Linked DNA regions of Homo sapiens: region 2 is linked to region 1. The links are contacts of gene promoters, found by promoter capture Hi-C in blood cells and fetal thymus (Javierre and others, 2016). All regions are on one chromosome and are shown on one strand. The core of a region is centred on a gene start or on the middle of the fragment in contact, and the rest is flanking DNA. Distances in the headings are between cores, read along the strand shown. Region 1 holds the start of EPC1 (enhancer of polycomb 1). Region 2 overlaps KIF5B (kinesin family member 5B).

The links. Contacts are between HindIII fragments. The CHiCAGO score rates a contact against its expected background, and 5 or more counts as called.
Region 2: a contact is called between a fragment that was not itself captured here and the fragment with the promoter of EPC1 in region 1, in 1 of 17 cell types (erythroblasts). The highest score is 5.9, in erythroblasts.

What each region holds. Positions count from the first base shown.
Region 1 is chr10:32,344,886-32,352,019 of GRCh38, reverse strand. It overlaps EPC1 (enhancer of polycomb 1), which reads left to right and starts at 4,862. Exons shown (of 14, transcript NM_001272004.3): 1 at 4,862-5,257. The coding sequence starts at 5,105. It overlaps EPC1-AS1 (EPC1 antisense RNA 1), which reads right to left and starts at 4,656. Exons shown (of 2, transcript NR_104163.1): 1 at 4,545-4,656. RefSeq lists silencers at 4,272-4,401, 4,412-4,881, 5,552-5,831 and enhancers at 5,152-5,211, 5,232-5,331. The HindIII fragment of the contact is 3,163 bases long and covers 2,619-5,781 here.
Region 2 is chr10:32,032,313-32,039,901 of GRCh38, reverse strand. KIF5B (kinesin family member 5B) reads left to right here. Exons shown (of 26, transcript NM_004521.3): 4 at 471-575; 5 at 1,076-1,124; 6 at 1,684-1,739; 7 at 2,295-2,382; 8 at 2,524-2,648; 9 at 3,908-4,012; 10 at 4,235-4,380; 11 at 5,064-5,212; 12 at 5,864-6,057; 13 at 7,128-7,196. Among named protein-coding and RNA genes, the nearest start is that of KIF5B, 20 kb to the left of the region's middle. The HindIII fragment of the contact is 2,128 bases long and covers 3,792-5,919 here.

The sequences.
Region 1 (7,134 bases), core at 3,613-6,112:
TCATGCCTGTCATCCCAGCACTTTGGGAGGACGAGGTGGGTGGATCACCTGAGATCAGGAGTTTGAGACCAGCCTGGCCAACATATGGTGAAACCCTGTCCTTACTAAAAAAAATACAAAAATTAGCCGGGCGTGATGGCGCACACTTGTAATCCCAGCTACTTGTGAAGCTGAGGTAGGAGAATCACTTGAACCCGGGAGGTGGAGGTTGCAGTGAGCCGAGATCACGCCACTGCACTCCAGCCTGGGCAACAGAGCAAGACTCCATCTCTCAAAATAAAATAAATAAATAAATAAATAATCAAAAGAATGAATAAAAACCTGGAGGCAGGAAAGACACGCTGATTTTTTTTCTTTTTTTAAGATGGAGTTTCGCTCTTATTGCCCAGCCCGGAGTGCAATGGTGCAATCTCGGCTCACTGCAACCTCCACCTCCCGGGTTAAAGCGATTCTCCTGCCTCAGCCTCCTGAGTAGCTGGGATTACAGGCGTGCACCACCATGCCTGGCTAATTTTTTGTATTTTTAGTAGAGATAGGGTTTCATCATGTTGGCCAGGCTGGTCGTGAACTCCTGACCTCAGGTGATCCACTCTCCTCGGCCTCCCAAAGTACTGGGATTACAGGCATGAGCCACCGCACCCAGCCGACATGCTGATTTCTGAAGATGGTGATGAGACTGCTAGCTAGAGTGAAAAGCTTGTCTTAAGCAATAATGACAAACGATGTTGGACAGAGTGGGGCAAAATTACAGGAGGTCTTGACAACCAAACACTCGAAAATTTGGCTTTATCTAATGGGCAAAACAAGAGCAGTTATAAAGATATGACTTGGGGAAGGGAAGATACAGAATGAAGTACAGTTTTTGGCACACTGACTTGGTGACATGCATTGTGAGGCCCCAGGGACCCAGAGCCTCTGCTTCCACTTTTGGTTACCACTAGCCACCAACAGAAGAGTACCAGCACAGTTTCCTATAAAGTGAGGGCTTTAAAAAGGTTTATTGAGGGAATGAGTAAATAAAGGATGGACTGAATAAATAAAGGATGAATGGGAGGCTGTTTCTAGGGGTGAAGTGATCAGAGTTGGGACTATGTTTAAGACAATGGAAATGGAAATTGGGAAGTAAATCCCAGAAACAATTTCAAAGAAGAAATCATAAGACTTGGATACATACCGAACATAAACTACTATTTAGAGCTGTATTTCAAATGTATTAGTTACCACAGAATGCAGTGTCAGAGCAGTTGCCTTTGGCATATTCTAAGTTTTTGTTAAGTAGAAATTCTGTATTTGGAACAGAAATCACATTTCTTGTGCTATTATATGTAATGATTATTACCATGAAAACTCATGTCTCTTTACTTTCTACTCCTACTCCATCCACCCAAGTTCTTACCAGTTTTATCTCCTAATTGGCTTGTTGTTGGAGTCTCCTACTGAACTCCGGCCAAATAAACCTCCTCATCCTCAATCATACCTGACAGTTGCCGCCTCTCACCCTTTTGTTCATACAGTTGCGTTCCCCCATGAATGTTCTTTCTTCTATAATAGCATTTCATTCCCATGAGCAGTTGAAACCTTAGCCATCCTTCAGAATCAGATCGCATGCTGCTTCTCCATGCTGTCTGATCAACCCAGATGGGACCTACTGCTCTCTTTTCTGAACTCCCATAGCCACTGCATTTCATTATACTGCCTTGCCACTTGGGCAACTGGGTATCCATTTACCAGTGTTTTATTTGTATCCCCTACAATGACAGTACTGTGTGTTACCTGGTTATCCAATACATATTTGTGACATCAAACTATCTTAAATACTCCAAATCCTTTCCCAAACAAGAGTTTCCCTCTGCCGTTAGGGTATTCACCTTTGCCCTAGCATACATTGTTTGCAACATCGAGAATTTCACATCACTTTTGTTGGGGATACTTAGAAAAAGAAGGAATTTTAAGTTGAGAACAGAAAAGAATTTTTAAAGTGAAAGTACAGGATTAACCATTTTTTCAAGGAATCTTTCGGACAGATAAAAGAATCTAGGGAAAACTAAACCTGAATCTTTACTGCTGCCTTCCTGTCCCTTAAGGTGAAGAAAAGTGAACTGCATAAAAAAGAGGCATGGGTCCGAACGCAGTGGCTCACACCTGTAATCCCAGCACTTTGGGAGGCCGAGGTGGGAGGACTGCTTGAGGTCAGGAGCTCAGGAGCAGCCTGGGCAACAGAGGGAGGCCCTGTCTTTAGAAAAAATTTAGAAATTAGCAGGGTATGGTGGCATGTACCTTTAGTCCCAGCTACTGATGGCTGAGGCAGGAGGATCACTTGAGCCCAGGAGTTCAAGCCTGCAGTAAGCCATGATCACAACACTGAACTCAGGCCTGGGAGATAGAGACACTGTCTCTAAAAAACAAAAATTTCAAAAAAGGGTTTTTTTGTTTGTTTGTTTGTTTTAATTTTATAAAAGAGGCTTGGGACTCCAGCCTTTGAGTCCTTGGGAACCCAGAAGGACCTGAGAGTTGGAAATCCACAGCATTGAGGAGACGGATAAAGGAATGATGAGAAAAAGGTGTCTCTTAGCAGGCATATAATATTATCTGCCAAAAGGCAAGTGAATCTGTAAGCTTATCTGTGAATTTGCCACGGAGGGTGATTTTAGACTCTCTAGAGAATAAGAAATTTTTTTGTACTCCACCCATTATTACTAATGTAGGATGTGGAAATAGTTATTTTGTTGTTTACTGTTATTTTAATGAGGGTAGAAATAATTCATTTCCTTGGTTCACTCTTGACTTACTCTATTTTGTTCTTAAAATCTTAGGCTCCTCAATTATGAATTCTACTGCTAGGACTTTCAGGAACCTAATGTTGTAGGCTGGAGAGGGCTGTCAGAATAATATTCAGCCAGTATTTTCGGAACTGTTAAACCTGGCTAAACAGGTGTCATTCCACAGTGAAGTTGGCAATTCTTGAGGCTCCCAGAAAGTGACTGCTATCTAATGACTCAGCTTGTGGATACGTCGCTACCGTTGTCTTAAGATACCTTTCTTCCCTTCATTTTTACTTTTTTTGCAAAGTTAACCCACACTTATCCTACATAATTTTACTCAGATATCATCTCTTCCAAAAAGTCTTCCCTTGCTACTTCATTAGAACTACTCTCCTGGGTTGGGCGCCACTCTTGCCCCTTCCCACAGTGGCCTGGGCTTCCACCATAACACTTAGCTCGCCGTGTGGCAGTTGCCATTCGCGGGTCCTTCTCCCCACTGTGTAAGCTCCTCCAGGAGCCCTGTGGGTGCCAAGCTGACTTGGAAGGCTATGAGGGCTCAATACACACCCTCAATACTCATTGAATGAATAAAGGCACGGTCTCTGTGTAGGAAATGCAGGTGAACGTCCTTATGCCTCACTTAAGTGAGCTGCCAATATCGGAGTTTAAGTATAATTTTGGAGAACTGCAATCCGTCCTGTTTTCTCCCTACCCCGCGGGAGCTGGCTAAACCAGCCTGGAGGCTAGCAGTTTGCCTGTGTGCCCTAAGCTAGTGACAGCTCATATCAAGCCCAGTATTTAAGGAGCGTGATTACTTTTACTACGTAGTTCCCAGGGAGAAAAGCAACTCAAAACATTTTTGTATCTTTTTGTATCTTGTTGCACAAGATACAAAATTGTGCACTAAGATACAAATTGAAACTCGAATTGAAATTTGGCTGCCAATTTATTAAACCCACCCCAACAATCTTCCCTATTAACAACAACAACAACGAAGAGATCTCAGGATACCCATTTTCATGTGTAATATAAACCGATGCCACCCATCTATCATATCCATCTAAATCTAATAATTCAGCTTTTTGTTTGGCGGGAGTACGACAGGTCTTTATATGATTCAATGTTACAAAGTTTTTCAGAGGACAAATGATGAAAGTGTGAACCCACGGCTATGATGAAGCCGCAGTCTCTTTGAGTACAGAATCATGAGCTAGATATAAAGAACTGGCTTTAAATTCTGAAGTAGATCTTGCTTTTAAATGTTATAGTGGTGGGTAATAATTTCCTTTGCTTCAGTTACTATTTAAAAAGTAAATATGTGTAGATGAAAATGCAGGATTTAAAAAAATCTACTTTGTAGAATAGGATACCTATCATTTATATTAAGCCCAATGCGTGGGAAACGGATCAATGACTTGATGCGGTGCCTATAAAACATTATAATCCAAAGTTGCATTAGGACATAAAAATAACTGCTGATAAAAGTTTACTCAAAGTAGCATCTGCCCCTAATTCAGTTTGTATTTTTATCGTAAAGACCTAAGGCGCCGCGGGAACTAGGCTGTGCGTTCGCCCCCCGCGGCAGACGGCGGCGCGCGGCGCCTCTGGAGCGCCCCTCCGAAGCCCCGTGGGGGCGGCCGTGGCCCCGGGGCAGCCGCTGGCGAGCACCCCAGAGGTCCGAGCCCTCCGAGCCCCAGGTGCCCGGGGCCCGAGCCCCGCCTGCCACTCTCCCCAGCTGCCTTTCCAAACGGCGGCGTGCTGGTGGAGAGAGTTTTCCCGCACCTTGTTCGCCCGTCAGAAAGCGGCGCCGGGAGGGAGCGAGCGTGAGAAAGTGAGCGTGTGCGCTGCAGGAGAGCACGACCCAAGAGCCGGCGCCCGGTGTCCGAGCGCCCAGTCCGCCCTGTCCGCCCCCGGACCCGCGAAGGGCGGGGGCCCGGAGCAGCGAGGCGCGGGAAGCGAGGCCGGCGGGTGCCGGGGGTTGGCGGGACGCGCGCTTCGTGCCGGCGCCGGCCTCGAGCCCGCGCTCCCTCCCCCCGCCCGCGTGCCCGCGCCGCTGCGCGATGCAGTGTGGGGAATGGCTGGGGTTGGCTGAAGAGCGCACAGTGGAGTTTTAATGTCCGCCATGTTGGCCATGGCGTATTGAAGAGAGCGAGCGAGAGAGGAGCGGAGCGGCACAGCCTCCCACCCTCCCGGCTGGTGTTAGTGCCCGGACGGCGGGCTCTGCGCTCCGCCCCTCAAGTCCCCGGCAGCGGTTGGCGAGTGGGGACCGAACCCCCGGTTCTCCATGATCCCGCTGGCCGGGGCCGTTTCCCCAGAGCGGAGAGGTATCTGCTGCGCCTGAGATGAGTAAACTGTCGTTTCGGGCGCGGGCGCTAGACGCCTCGAAGCCGCTGCCGGTTTTCCGCTGTGAGGATCTGCCCGACCTGCACGAATACGCCTCGATAAACAGGGCCGTGCCGCAGATGCCCACCGGAATGGAGAAGGAAGAGGAGTCGGTACGTGTTAACTCCCCTGTCCGACCCACCGTCAGGCCCGCTCCCTCTGCTGCCTGCGGCGGCGGCGGAGCAGCAAACCCACACAAAATGGCCGCCATCTTCTCTTCGCCGCCGACTCTCAGTCGCCGGCCGGGCCTATACCCCGCCTCCCCCAGCCTCGACCCCCGGCCGCCGCGGCCCAGCGGGGCCCCTTCTAAGGCCACCCGCTGACCCTGGCCACTTGTACCCGGGTCCCGCGGAGTTCGGGGGCCCGAAAGGCACAAAGGGGTCACGTGACGAAGCTGCCGGCAGCCATTTTGTGTCTTAGTTCTTGGGTTGGGCCTTGTGCATCCGGAGAGGGGAACGGGCTGGGTGGCTGTGGGGGTGCGGCGAGTCGGGAGCCGTGGAGGACCCGCCTACAGGCCTCTCCGTGGGCCGCTGGGTGGCGCTCCAGGGCCACTGCGGCCTGCGCGCCGCTGCCCGGGCCGGGAGCGCAGGTTCTGTGCACAGTCGGGGAATTTGATTGCCCCATGGTCTGGGAAGCTTGTTGGGCTCAGTGCAGCCCCCACGTGGAGCCTCAGACGGGCATGTCATGTCGCCTGCTGCTCTATGAGGCTTTTCTCCCCCTCTGCAAGGAAATGTCGAGGGTGCAGCGTGTTTGCCCGGACGACTTACTTTTCTAGAAGATAAGACTTACTTTCAGTGTCCTCTTTCTGGGACGTTTGTATCCATCCCTCTCCAGAGCTAGTTGGTCGGAGGATAATAAACCACTATCCCTGACTTTTTCTGTGATCCTTGCGAATATCTTGCAGATTTGTTTGGAGTACCTCTCTCTTCTGAAGCCTGTAACCTTACCTATTTGTAAAATAAATTTAAGTTCTCCTGCTCTCTGGTATCTCAACATAGGGGGAGAAAAGACCCAATTTAAGTAACTTTTATAGATCTAAATTTCGAAGGAGGATCCTTTCTTATTCAAAACCGAACTAAAACTAAGTGACTTGATTCACAGAAATCTTAATATTGAGATGTCTAAATTGGGTGGGTTTCAGCACGTAAATGTTGACAACTAATAGACATTTTACCATCGCTGTGGCTTTACCTTGTTGTGGAAGTTGGGTTCGGACACCAGGATAATAGAATCTTCCTCTCATTTCCCCCAGATCCTTGACAGTATAACTTGATGACTTCTAATCCTAAGGAATTGCATACCTTGGTTTTCAGGTACAGCCATTTAAACAGGGTGCAGTGTATTGACAGTTCAAGGAAGTCCAGGAGTCGCGTGGATTTGTGTGCTACAATTTTGTTGTGGAAAATTGTACTGTAATACTTCTCTTGGTACTGTAAGAATTTTTAATGTAGAAATTATGCTCTGTAATGTTGTTTTTGGAAATAAAACTGTTTAAACTCTTTGGGTTGTTTAACCTTTTAAAGTGAAATAGCTGTGACAGTGAAATGTTACTTTTGAGAGTAGTGTCTTAAATCTAACTTTACAGATAAGCCAAGTGTATGTAGTAGCTCAGATTGTCTAGTTGGGCACTGACTTTCAGCACATTGTCTCATGAGACACTACCTCTTAATTTATTTTACTTGTATCAACTTTAGAGTAGCATGGCCATTTGTTTATTTTTTAATAAGTGATTTGTTTTTAAAAATTAAAGTACTTGTGACTGCAGAATCTTGTCTTTTGGTTTTATTTTTATTTCTAAGTTTTACAGATAATACTTTCAAGTATTGGGGTGTTGGTTTTACCCTGCCCTGGAAATTAATTTGTAATTCTTGTTCAGCAGCCAAGGAAGGGGAAAGCCTTGATTAAAGCAAGACAGCACAACAGTACACTTTAGACTTTAGTTAAGTCTTGCTTCTGTGAATACTTTGGACAGTCCCAAGAGTTACAACCT
Region 2 (7,589 bases), core at 3,606-6,105, 310 kb after region 1:
ACTGCTAAAGAGCATCTGTTTTTATCATTTATTTGAGTGTACTATATTAAGTAAATGACTGCTTCTTTTAGTGTGATTCATATTACTGATTTTCATAAAGTCATAGAGAACAAGGACATCCTAGTATTTGCATGAATTTGCCTCGAAGTAGAAGGAACAATGTAGAATTATATGGAAAGAAACTAAAACCTTTTTAATTATGTTCATTTTACAATGAACATTTTACAAGCATGGATAATCTAAATCTAGTGATTAAATGAAGGGTTAAGATCTGTTGGTAACCCATGTGGTTGATGTACAGTACTGTGTATGTGTAATAGTTGAATTGGATTTTTTAGGTATTTACAGAGCCGTTTCCACAAAAATATAGTTCCTGTCCTTTCTTGACTATAAGTTGTAGATTGAAACTCTTTGTTTTTACTTCATATTTTATAATTTATTTAAGAAGTCTAGTTTTGTTTTTTGTTTAGGGTAAACTTCATGATCCAGAAGGCATGGGAATTATTCCAAGAATAGTGCAAGATATTTTTAATTATATTTACTCCATGGATGAAAATTTGGAATTTCATATTAAGGTAAATTCCTTGAGGAAAGATTATATTTTATTTTACAGCAAGAATAATGTTCTAAAAAAATAGTAAATGCTGGTTTCTTTAATTTTAAAAATTGTTTTTCTGGAAAGGTACAGTTGAAAGATCATTCAGGTTAGTAAACTTGGATTTTTGTTCATCTGCCATTAGATGAACAGGAATGTTAACTAACGTAAATGATTAAGTCTTTAGCCTCCTTCAAAAAATAAAGGAGGTTGCTTTACTGCAGAACTTGAAGGTTTCTACTACATAAAACTATTCTAATTCATTTTAGATGAAGATAATGTAATTTATGTCCAATGGGAAGACTGCTTAAATAACTAAGCTAATTTGGCTAATTTATGTCTTCCCATTAGAATGTGAGCTATGGCTGGTATGTTGATAACTGTCTCTCTAGTCTAAACAATGCCTAGCACTCAGACCTCAATATGCGAATAAGTTATATAACTTTAGTTGATCGGTGTTTTTTTAAATTTGCCCTTTAGGTTTCATATTTTGAAATATATTTGGATAAGATAAGGGACCTGTTAGATGGTAAGTTAAATTCTTGCTAATCAGTTTTAAATAACATCTGTTAATTCCTTTTTAATAATAGATGTGAGACTATTTCTTTGTAACCTATATGAAATTGTCTTAAGTTATTGGAAATAGACAAAATTTTTTTTCTTCTAAAGTTTTAGTTGAATACCTTTAAATAGAATAACTAGTTTAAAGCGATGTTTATGGGTACTTCTTAGTAGTAATTAGAGCATTGGACTGGGAGTTACATAATCTGAGCCCTGAGTTCTAGTCTTCTGTCAACTGTCAATTAGATACATTGTCCTTAGGCAAATCATTGAACCATTCAGGGTTAATGTTCTTGTTTATAAAATGTGGGTGGTAGGTTGGAGTGGTCCTAAAATTCTATATTGTTGCATTGGTTTCTATTTACATCTCCTGCTGTGTCTGTAAGGTCTGCTTTAGAGCAATGTTTTAATATGTTTTTAGAGTTCAACTATTGCTGTTAGGCTGCTCAGGAAAGCCTATCAGTTATTTCATATCCAGTGTTAAGAGTTTTAGGAGAATGTTGCTAACATTTGTTTTTCTTTCTCAGTTTCAAAGACCAACCTTTCAGTTCATGAAGACAAAAACCGAGTTCCCTATGTAAAGGTATTTATAGTACAGTTGTCTAGAAAACCCTGTAATACTTTTTTTTTTTTTTTAAGACAGAGTCTCACTCTGTCGCCCAGGCTGGAGTGCAGTGGTGCAATCTCGGCTCACTGCAACCTCTGCCTCCAGGGTTCAAGCAGTTCTCCTGCCTCAGCCTCTTGAGTAGCTGGGATTACAGGCATGCGCCACCACGCCCAGCTAATTTTTGTATTTTTAGTAGAGACGAAGTTTCACCATGTTGGCCAGGCTGGTCTTGAACTCCTGACCTCGTGATCCGCCCGCCTCTGCCTCCCAAAGTGCTGGGATTACAGGCGTGAGCCAATTCATTTAATATATGGAGGCTCGCTCTGTTGCTCAGGCTGGAGTGCATGGCATGGTCTCGGCTCACTGCAACCTTTGCCTCCCAGGCTCAAGCGATTCTCCTGCCTCAGCCTCCCAAGTAGCTAGGATTACAGGCACCCGCCACCGCGCCCGGCTAATTTTTGTGTTTTTATTAGAGAAAGGGTTTCATCATGTTGGCCAGACATTAACATATTTTTAAAAATTATTTCACAGGGGTGCACAGAGCGTTTTGTATGTAGTCCAGATGAAGTTATGGATACCATAGATGAAGGAAAATCCAACAGACATGTAGCAGTTACAAGTAAGTAGAAAATAACACTGGTTAGGATTTAAAACCAGCTTAAAATATCCTTATCCAGGTGATTAATTATAAGATTGCTTCAGGGAAATTGTTAAGGGGAAATCATGTTTGTTTATATTTGTTTGTGTAATTTCCTTGCAGATATGAATGAACATAGCTCTAGGAGTCACAGTATATTTCTTATTAATGTCAAACAAGAGAACACACAAACGGAACAAAAGCTGAGTGGAAAACTTTATCTGGTTGATTTAGCTGGTAGTGAAAAGGTAAAGTCTTCATGTATTTTGACAAATATTTAAGCATCTTTGTAAACTTTAGTTTGAGTTGGGAGTTACGCAGGGTTCATTGTTGCATCTTACTTACCAAACTGGATTTGGTAACCTGAGATTTGTAACCGCTGATGCCAGTGCCTTATGATGATATCAGCTGAATAATCAGTTCCAAGTTACTGTTGTTTGACCATACTCTAGTTCAACCCATAAGTGGTTTCTATGACTTAAGATATGTTCATAGTGAGAACTGGTTCAGCATATGTTGTTATAAACTTTATTAGATATCCCTTTTCTAATTTTTGATACGTATTTTATCCATATTGGCAGTGGGGTCCCTATTAAAACTGGTAACTCTCGATTAGTCTTTTCTGGTTTGGTTGGACTTATTTCTTTCCTTTGGATTATTGTTTCATTATTACAATTCTATACAGTCTGATTCTAGTCTATATCAAATTAAGTTTGAATGTTATAATAGGGACCTCTGACCATTTTTGCTGTTGTGCTAATTTTGTTTCTTCTGCTTAGAATGATATATCTATTCCGTTCTACTCTGAAGTCTTACACACATCTTTCAAAGATTATCTAATCTGAGAAATCTCCTAAGCTATTTCTTCAGCCAACATTGCTAATTTATTGTTCTGACCTATCTTTAACATAGATACTAGCTGGGCATGGTGGCACATGCCCGTAATACCAGCTACTGGGGAGGCTGAGGCAGGAGAATTGGTTGAACCCGGGAAGCGGAGGTTGCAGTGAGCTGGGATCAAGCCACTGCACTCCAGCCTGGGTGACAGAGTGAGACTCAGTCTCCAAAAAAAAAACACCACAACATAGATATTTAGATATTTTATATATTTTTAAAAGAAGCAGATTTGCTTATATAATGTGTTTAAAACTCAGTCTCTGTTTTCTAACAGTTACAACATCAACATTATGCATTAGCCAATTTTAGAAGGTTCCTGTTTTCTAATGTAGCAAAGGGGACTAACAGATTAATGAACTACAAATTTACATTTAAATTGGTTATTTTCAAGAGTACCTACAAACTACAGATAAAATTTGATGTCTCTCTAATCAAACTCTTAAGAGTAGTACTCAAGAAATGGTGGTATGCTTGGCAAATAAGATCATGAAGCTTTTCATGTTCTTTTTTCTTTTTTACTGGTTATTGATGACATATGAACATTTTAGAAAATGTAAAGAAAATTATAAACTTGTAATTTTGTTTCATTCTTTTGAAATCTTATGTATAGGTTAGTAAAACTGGAGCTGAAGGTGCTGTGCTGGATGAAGCTAAAAACATCAACAAGTCACTTTCTGCTCTTGGAAATGTTATTTCTGCTTTGGCTGAGGGTAGTGTGAGTATACATGTCTTCTATCTCCCTGTTACCTTATGGGGCATTATTTAAATATAGGTGTATATGTGTGCCTGGGTGTGTATGAGAGAGAGAGAGAGAAAGAGAGATTGAGATTCAATGTGTTTGAATCAGTATGTGTAAGTTAGTTGTCTTTTGGGAGTTTATTTTATAATAACATTTTATTATACTGGTCTTGTTTTCTTTCTTTGTTTTTGTATGCAGACATATGTTCCATATCGAGATAGTAAAATGACAAGAATCCTTCAAGATTCATTAGGTGGCAACTGTAGAACCACTATTGTAATTTGCTGCTCTCCATCATCATACAATGAGTCTGAAACAAAATCTACACTCTTATTTGGCCAAAGGTTTGTTGTTAAGAAAGTACAAAACCTAAATTTAGATAGACCTTTTGTTTATAAAATGTAGGAAAATGTGAGCTGTTATTCCAACCTGTACATACTGTTTTGTGCTAGACACACTCAGTTTGAATTGATGACAGATAATACAAGGTGGGTCTGATTTTTAGACTGCTTGGTTTAAGTTTTAGTACACATTAAAGTCAGATGTAATTTTAGTCAAATTTGTGTGACAAGCTGTAATTTGGTATTAAAGAAAATAAGCATTTGAATCAAATAATGAGGTCAAAGCCTGGCAAACATAATCCTCTGTTAAGCCTGTAGACATGCATGACAGGTTAATATAATCTGTATGAGATGATTAGGAAAATCAGTAATGATGATTCCGTCTTTGACTTTCAACAGTAATTTCTTAATTCAGCCTTGCAAACAAATTGGAAAAATATAGGCCTTTGTCTTTTATTTTTAGTGGTTTGTTGATTTTTTTTTTTTTAAAGCTATTCACAGATTTTGGAGCAGACTCAAATTTAGTTGAGTTGTAAATAACGTCATATGTTGCGGCTTTTAGTATTTAGTCTAAGAGATTACTGGACAAGCATAAGTTTCTTAGCCATATATACATATATTCCATATAGATAAAATTAAAAATAATTTCAGTCTCATCCTTTTTTTCCTCCAATTACATCTCTTAGGGCCAAAACAATTAAGAACACAGTTTGTGTCAATGTGGAGTTAACTGCAGAACAGTGGAAAAAGAAGTATGAAAAAGAAAAAGAAAAAAATAAGATCCTGCGGAACACTATTCAGTGGCTTGAAAATGAGCTCAACAGATGGCGTAATGGTAATAACTTAAGAATTTGTCATCTTCAGTTTGTTAAATACAGATTTAGAGCATAGAAACGTAGAAATAGTTCAGCAAAATCAGTAAGTGACTAGATCAAGAAATTTAATAGACATCGAAATAATTTTTAAAAAAATTAATAGAAATCCTGGAGCTGAAAAATAAAATGAGCAAAATGCAAGAGACCATCAGTAGTAGAATTAATTAAGCAGAAGAATCTGAACTTGAAGACAGATTATTTGAAAATAACACAGAGAAGAAAAAGTTTGAAAGAACGAGGCTGGGTGCACTGGCTCATGCCTGTAATCCTAGCACTTTGGGAGGCCAAGGTGGGCAGATCACTTGAGGTCAGGAGTTAGAGACCAGCCTGGCCAACATGTTGAAACCCCATCTCTACTGAAAACACCAAAATTAGCCTGGCATGGTGCTGAGCGCCTGTAATCCCAGCTAATCAGGAGTCTTGAGGCAGTAGAATTGCTTGAACCCTGGAGGCAGAGGTTGCAGTGAGCCTAGATTGCACCACTGCACTCCAGCCAGGGTGACAGATTGAGACTCTGTCTCAAAAAAAAAAAAAAAAATTTTTAAAGGAATGAAATTGAAATTAGCTTTAGACGTCGTTTTTTTATTAACCACTTTATTTTCTTATTTTAGGGGAGACGGTGCCTATTGATGAACAGTTTGACAAAGAGAAAGCCAACTTGGAAGCTTTCACAGTGGATAAAGATATTACTCTTACCAATGATAAACCAGCAACCGCAATTGGAGTTATAGGAAATTTTACTGATGCTGAAAGAAGAAAGTGTGAAGAAGAAATTGCTAAATTATACAAACAGCTTGATGACAAGGTAGGTATTGCTTGATTTAGGTCTGCTTTATATTAGGATACTATTGACATGGGTGTTTTTATTTTCTAACTTTTCTCATTTCAGTGCTGTGGGCACTTAGGATCTTTATGCATCTTCCTTGATTTCTGTTAATCTTGTAAAAATTATTGTATTAACAAAATAAAAAGTCATAATTTCAATTTCTGTGTGGAAACTGTATGAGCATGTATCTTTTCTTCCCCCTCTTTTTAAGCTAAAAGAACTTTATAAGGCAGCAGTCCCCAACCTTTTTGGCACCAGGGACTGGTTTCAGGGAAGACAGTTTTTCCGTGGATCAGGTCGGGGAGATGGTTTTGGGATGAAACTTCCACCTTGGATTATCAGGCATTAGATTCTCATAAGGATCCTCTAACCTAGATCTCTTGCATGCACAGCTGATAATAGAGTTCGCGCTCTTAATGATATTCTAATGCTGCTGATCTGGCAGAAGGCGGAGCTCAAGTGGTAATGCTTGCTGCTCACCTCCTGCTGTGCTTCTTGGTTCCTAACAGGCTTCCAGTACTGCTTTGTGGCCTGGGGGCTTGGGGACCCCTGTTCTAATGAAAATTTGGCATTGGGTCATTGGGAGCCTCAATGATACCAATTGTTAGAATCAGGGCTCTGAAGACTCCAATAAAAGATGATGTGAGAGATTAAGGGAAACACAATAGAGTGGAAATAATATCTTCCTGCTTTGCATATAGAAGTAATGTCAATAGTATGAATAATAGCAAACTAAGAACGTAATAGAATGGAAGGCAAGAACAAGAGTAGTAAAGAGATTAGAAGAAAATATTTTCTTAAGTTGATATTTTTAATATATTTTAAGCAGAGATGGCAGGTTCGAAGTACATGACCATTATAAGTATTGATAATTGAAAGAAATTCCTTTTGTTTTGCCATTTTCTTAAAAGAGATTAAAATAAGCAATGTTGAATTTAGAGAAATGGTTTTGAAATATTTCTGGGGAGTAGTAATCTTATAACCTGTATTGGGAAACAACTAGAACCAGGTTGTTAGCTACTGGTTAACCGGATACTTCACAATTCTAGGATGAAGAAATTAACCAGCAAAGTCAACTGGTAGAGAAACTGAAGACGCAAATGTTGGATCAGGAGGAGGTGAGTTGAATACCTTTTACATTGCTTCCAGAAAAGCTTTATAGTTTTGTTTTCTGAATCCCATTGACTTTGTCTTTAATAGTTGTATAATTTTGGGTATGACTGTCTTTGTGGGAATAAGAATGTCACATGGATAAAGTGAATTTTTACTTATTCATCGTATCTACCCAGATACAATCTGTTGTTCATTTCCGCCATCTTTTTTTTCACCCTGGTTCTTGACATTTCTCTTCTTGTCACTTACTTTGGATCCTCATTTTATCTTCTCACCCAGCAGAGCAGGGGGATAATTGAAAAGCAGTCCTTTAAATTTTTTTGTGGGGGTGGTGGGCAGGGTGAAGACAAAGACTGCTTCGGTAAGAAAGAGATACTCTCCATCAGTGAACTTAATCC